2 separate regions of the Homo sapiens genome follow, and region 1 is linked to region 2. Evidence: promoter capture Hi-C in 16 types of primary human blood cells and fetal thymus (Javierre and others, 2016). All regions are on one chromosome and are shown on one strand. Each heading gives the region's core, a stretch centred on a gene start or on the middle of the fragment in contact. The rest is flanking DNA. Distances are from core to core; before and after follow the strand shown.

Evidence for each region. Contacts are between HindIII fragments. The CHiCAGO score rates a contact against its expected background, and 5 or more counts as called.
Region 1: a contact is called between a fragment that was not itself captured here and the fragment with the promoter of KHDRBS3 in region 2, in 1 of 17 cell types (monocytes). The highest score is 6.0, in monocytes.

The regions. Positions count from the first base shown.
Region 1 is chr8:134,722,854-134,725,553 of GRCh38, reverse strand. It overlaps LOC124902072 (a long non-coding RNA gene), which reads right to left. Exons shown (of 2, transcript XR_007061187.1): 2 at 1,644-2,102. It also overlaps a transcript of ZFAT not described here. Among named protein-coding and RNA genes, the nearest start is that of ZFAT, 11 kb to the right of the region's middle. The HindIII fragment of the contact is 7,755 bases long and covers 1-2,700 here.
Region 2 is chr8:135,456,195-135,458,894 of GRCh38, reverse strand. It overlaps KHDRBS3 (KH RNA binding domain containing, signal transduction associated 3), which reads right to left and starts at 1,439. Exons shown (of 9, transcript NM_006558.3): 1 at 941-1,439. The coding sequence starts at 1,028. LOC101927872 (a long non-coding RNA gene) reads left to right here and starts at 920. Exons shown (of 4, transcript XR_002956731.2): 1 at 920-1,013. RefSeq lists a silencer at 1,268-1,567. The HindIII fragment of the contact is 3,136 bases long and covers 1-1,902 here.

The DNA of each region.
Region 1 (2,700 bases), core at 9-2,508, 730 kb after region 2:
CTTTGCTGCTGTTCTTGTGATAGAGTTCTCATGAGATCTGGCTGTAGAAAAGCGTGTAGCACCTCTCCCCGTCCCTCTCTTGCTCCTACGCTGGCCATGTAATATGTGCCCATTCCCCCTTCATCTCCTGCCATGATTGTAAGTTTCCTGAGGCTTCCCCAGAAGCTGAGCAGATGCCAGTGCTATGCTTCCTGAACAGCCTGTGGAACCATGAGCCAATTCATCCTCTTTATAAATGGCCGAGTCTCAGATATTTCTTGAAAGCCGTCTGAGATCAGACTAATACACCACTCTTTGCCAGGCGCTTGAACTTGTGCCCTGAGGCAGCTTACAGTTCTGAGGGAGAAAGTAGTTAAACGAGCCATAACGATATGTGGGATGGGGCGGTACAGTGTGCCCAGGAAACGGGCAGGAAGGATGGTAGCCTTAATCTGCAGGGTTGGGGAAGCCTTCTCTGTGGAGGTTACCTCCAGCCCAGAGAGCTGGAGGGAGATCTGCAAAGAGGAGCAGGGGTAGGAGCAGATGGGGGGCTGTTTTCTCAAGCAAGGCCCCAGGGAGGGGCTTTAAAGAACCTGCAGAGGTGCAACTGCAACTGAGCTTGCGGTGGAGAGCACAGGTGGAGAGGTGAGCTTGGTTGCCAAGGACTTCCATGGGTGAGAACTGCTTGGACTTCAGTTCGCAAAGGGAGAAGCGCTTTAACTGGGGAGTGTGGGGTGAATTCCCCCACAGCCCATGGTAATCTTGACTCTGTAAGGGGAAGGGAGGCGAGTTTCTCCCCCTTGCTATAGACAGCTCCCCTTTGAGAGCTTCTAGCCTGCACTGTGTAACTTGACTGGCAGGTAACGTAACTGATAGAATGATACCCAGGGCAGGCTAAAGAGGTTCTGGGACTTTAAGTGACGAAACCAGGAAAGGCCCAGACCACCCGAGACCAGTTGGCCACCTACCAGCAGGGCTGCTGTTCAACCCATATACATGAGTTATGGCCATGGTGGTTATTATACTAACGAAATCTTTCCCTATTTAGTGATTTAGTAAATAGCACCTCTTTAAGCCCTGGCCCTGTGTCCCCATACTCTTGGCAGTATAGCCCACTGGCCCCAAACTCCTAGGACCTTCTTTCTCAGCTTCTAAAATTAAAGGAGTAACCCCTGGCACATCAGGGGCATGCGTTCTTTCTGATTAGCCAGTGTCCATGCTGTATCTATTGACAAATGTCACCCTGGGTCACCTGTGTTCCATTGTCCTTCCTTCTGCTATGCCTTGACTGGGCTTGGAGCTCACTGCATCTCCCTGCCTCTCAAGATGCCTACCCAATAATTTACAGGGCAGCTGCCATCACCCTCCAAGATGGTGACCAATGCACAGTCCCAAAGTTTCTTTACATGTCCACCCTCTGGAGTTCCTATGCAGATGGCACCTGAGCCTGCTTATAGAAACTGGCATAAGATTCTGCATCAAGAGATGCCCACCAAATGCCACCCCTGACTCCTAAGAATGGAAGTGAATCAAGTCTAGCTCTAAAGTGTAAAAGCAGCTGCGTAGGTTTTTGTCCACGTAGATAGCTTGAGGCAGCATAATGAAAGAAACTAATCCATCACCTCTTTTATGTGAGACATTGTTTTTAAACAATAGGCAATATATGAGATTTCCATGGACACTTTATTTTCAGGGTTATCAGTTTTCTCTCAGCTGTTACAGCAGCATTTCTCTCTGAGCCAGTTACTGCGGGAACTTCATAAATGTGCTTCTGAAGAAGGGTTCTGCTTGTCCACCCTGTTACAGGTTGAAATGTGTGTTCGTCAAGTTGTTCCTCATGCAGGAGGTTAGGGAGGTGACTGATCCCAGAGGCTCAGCCCCCCATGGTCCCAGTACAGTGAAGGGGTCCTCAAGGGGTGTCTTCAGGTTGGCTTCAGACAAGGGGAGACTCTGGCAGGAAACCAGGAGGGCAGGAGCGGAGTACGGTCTGGGCATTTATTCCTCAGTCTCCTTCTCTAAGTCGCAGAGTATTGGTGGTCCGTCTTGCTGAAGGTGGACTCCTCTGCACAGGCCCTGTCCTGGCCCTGGGTTCCAGCGGGCACTCCCTCCGCATGCCTGCAGGCCTGGGGTGAGGCGAGGTTGCAGAAGGGCTGCATCATTCCTCTCTGACCTCCCAAAACCCTGCCCACACCTTTGTAAAGAGCCCCTTCATTAAATGCTCCTCCAATTGCCCAGCTTGAGGATGCCCTCTGCCTCCCGCTGGAGGCCTGGCTGCCAAGGAGCTGAGGTGGAGCGATGTGATAAGAGGGAGGTCCCAGGCGATCCTGGGGGATGGGGATGCTGACAGTGCTGCCTGCAGTCAGGCAGCTCACAGGAATCCCTGTTACTCCAGGGATTGGAGCAGTGTTCACGTCTGTTTCTCAAGGCCTGTGTACTATTTTTCTGTGACTGCTGTAACGAATACCACAGACTGGGTGGCTTAAGCAACAGGAATTTATGTCCTCACCATTCTGGTGGCTAGAAGTCCAAGATCAAGGTGTCAGCAGGGTTGGGTTCATTCTGAGGCCTCTCTTGTAGAAGGTGGCTCGTAGATGGCCACCTTTTCTCTGTGTCTTCTGTGTGTCTCTGTCCTAATTTCCACTTTTGGAATATGACCCTGGCCATGTTGGATTAGAGTCCACTCATGACCTCCCTTTACCTTAATAACCTCTTTAAAGGCCC
Region 2 (2,700 bases), core at 190-2,689:
TGATTCAGGAAGCCACAGGAGGAAAAAGCCAGGGGAACACTGTCCCGGGTAGGCGTGCCTCCAGAAATCTCTGTATCCCTGACCCGCAGTACTTCCTAGGATCTTTCACACCCTGAGCTGGCTGGAGTCGTGTGAAAATGGCAAGGACTCCCTTCACCACTATTCCGAACCTCAAGCCAGCCACCAATGAGGGTCACCCAACCCAACGCCCTCCGGAACGGTGCTCTTTTGCCGGCCTCTTCTCCCCTACTGACTTCTCCAAGGGCCAGCCTGCAAGGCTTGGCATGGGCTGCCCATCCCCTGGGAGGGCTGACTGCCCCGCCAGGGCTGTTGGAGCCTGGACACAGGAGAGACAAAGGGCTGGGAGGGGGAACTGGGCTCCTCCCCTGGGACCACGGAGCTCCTCTCCTCTCAGGTGCTGGGGTCTGACCCCAACCCTCTTCCAAGGTCCCCAAACTTCGCTAACAATGCAAGCACCTGTTCCCTTCACCTCTTCTGCATTTGAGTCCCTCAAGTCCTTCCATTTTCCTCCAGCTTTTTCTCCAGTACCTTAGACAAACCAAACGCCCTACTTCCCCGAGTCCAACACGCTCCCCTTCCATGACATAATTCAACCTCGTTCCCAACGAAGCCCCCAGATGGTCGCTGTCCCCCACCCAGAAGTTTCCCCTGGGTGTGCCCGAGTCCCCAAAGATTTCCTTCAAGTCTCACCCATGCGCCCCAGCCTTCTCCTTCCAAGTCCCCAAAATTCACATCAGGGTCTTCCCCTAGGTGTCCCACAGCCTCCCAGGTCCCCGTGCAAACGACCCCGGGGGCCACCCGGGCCTCCGTCTCCGCCGCGTCCGCTGACAGCAGAGGGCACGGAGGGGCCCCCTGGGCCCCCGCGTTTCCACCCGGCCCCCAACCGCCGCCGGCCGGCAGTTAACGGCCGGCGCCTCACCTTGGTTCACCAGGCGCAGGGCGTGCGTGAAGGAGGGGTCCAGGGAGTCCTTCTCCGCCATCAGCTCGGGCAGGTACTTCTCCTCCATGCTCGCCGGCCGCCGGGCCCGGGATGTGGACTCCAGGCGCACGGGGGGCGGCGCCCGGCAACCCCCGACCCCGCCCGCGCCCCCAGCGGCGGGGACCCGGGGGCCAGACGCGGCAGCAGCGGCCAAGCCGGGCGGTCGGCCGGAAGGCGGCGGCGGCGGCACGGGGGCGGGAACCGACCGCTCAGCCCCGATCCCCGGTGGCCGCCGAGTACCCAGCGCCGGCGGCCCCCGCGCTCCGGGCGCGGGCCGAGGAGGAGCGGGCGCGGGCGGCGCGGTTAGGCGGGCCCTCGGGCCGAGCGGGCTGCGGCGCCCCTGAGGCAGTCCACGGCGATCCCCGCCAGTCCCGCCAGCACCTGCCAGCACCCGAGCCACAGCTGCGACCTGCACGCCGCGCGCCGCCCCGCGCACTCTGAGCCACCGCGCCGAGCGCCCAGCGCCTGCCGCCGGCCCCGCCCCGCCCGGCTCCGCCCCGCCCCGCCCCGCGCCCGCCGCCCCGCCCTGCCGCGCCGCGCCTGCGCACTGGCGCCCACCGCCCCGCCGCCCGCCGCCTCCTGGGGCCGCTCTCCACTGCGAGTCCGCCGGGACTAACCGGGCGTTTGCGAGAGGGGGTGCGTCCAAGGGCCCCTCCCGCGTGTCCGGCGCCCACCTTTGGCCCTGAGGGCCGAGTGGGGAGCCCCACGACGCTATTACAGCCTTTCAGATGCACGGACTGGGAAACTGGGGCTCAGAGAAGTCAAGTGGCTCGCCCAAGGTCACCCAGCGAGTGATCCTGGGAAGAGGGGACAAGGGCCGAGCTGGAGCTGGGAAGGGCGCCCCAGTTCGCCCCAGTCGCGCTCTGAGGAATAGCAGCGGGACCGCCCTGCTCTCTAAAGCTTCCTGGACTTCTCTAAGTTATGTCGCGTTGCTGTCCCCTCGTACTTATAAGAGAGTAAGGCAGGGGCGCCGTCCTTTCTCCGCGCCTGAGCTCAGAGCGCCAACCTCCTGAGATCCGCCAGCTCAGAGGTCGGTTACATAAAAGCGCGTGCCCTTCTGGGCGTCTTTGTCATCCCGACTTGCTCCTGGGTTGTCATTCTCTTAGGTCATAAACCGGCTGTGCCTGGACACAGCTGAGTGAGCCGCGTCTGAGCTCATCCGCTCCTGGGGAGAGGCCCTGGGACGCCCCGCCTGTCGGTGGCAATGCTCTCTGTCCCCTTCCGCCCACCCCCAACCCCCAGCAAATGCTCTCCAAGGCCATTTCAGATTTCCCGAGGCATGTGGAATAAACGTCCCCCAGGAAGGCGAAGGACTCCAGTCCTTGCCCTGCCATTTTTCCTGCCTTCAAACAGCCAGCTCAAGTCCCGGCCTCAATGTCACCTTCCCTGGACAGCCTCTCAGGACCTCCCTGGCAAAGCAAGTCACAAGTCCCTTCTCTGTGTCCCCCCAGCTTGGTCAGAGGTCATTCACAGACAGCTGTAATTCTGTTTTCAGTAGACCATGAGCATCAGGGACAGAGTTTGAGTTTTGTTTTTGAGGGGGAAGGTCACCAGTGTGTAGTACAGGGGGCAGGGATGGAGGGTACTGGAAATGTCTCTTGGAGGAATAAGTCAGTGGCATACCACTCTCAGCCAATAGCCTGAGGACAATCGCCACAGTCCCCCAGGCAGCCCCCCCGCACTCCCAATGCAAATGGAGG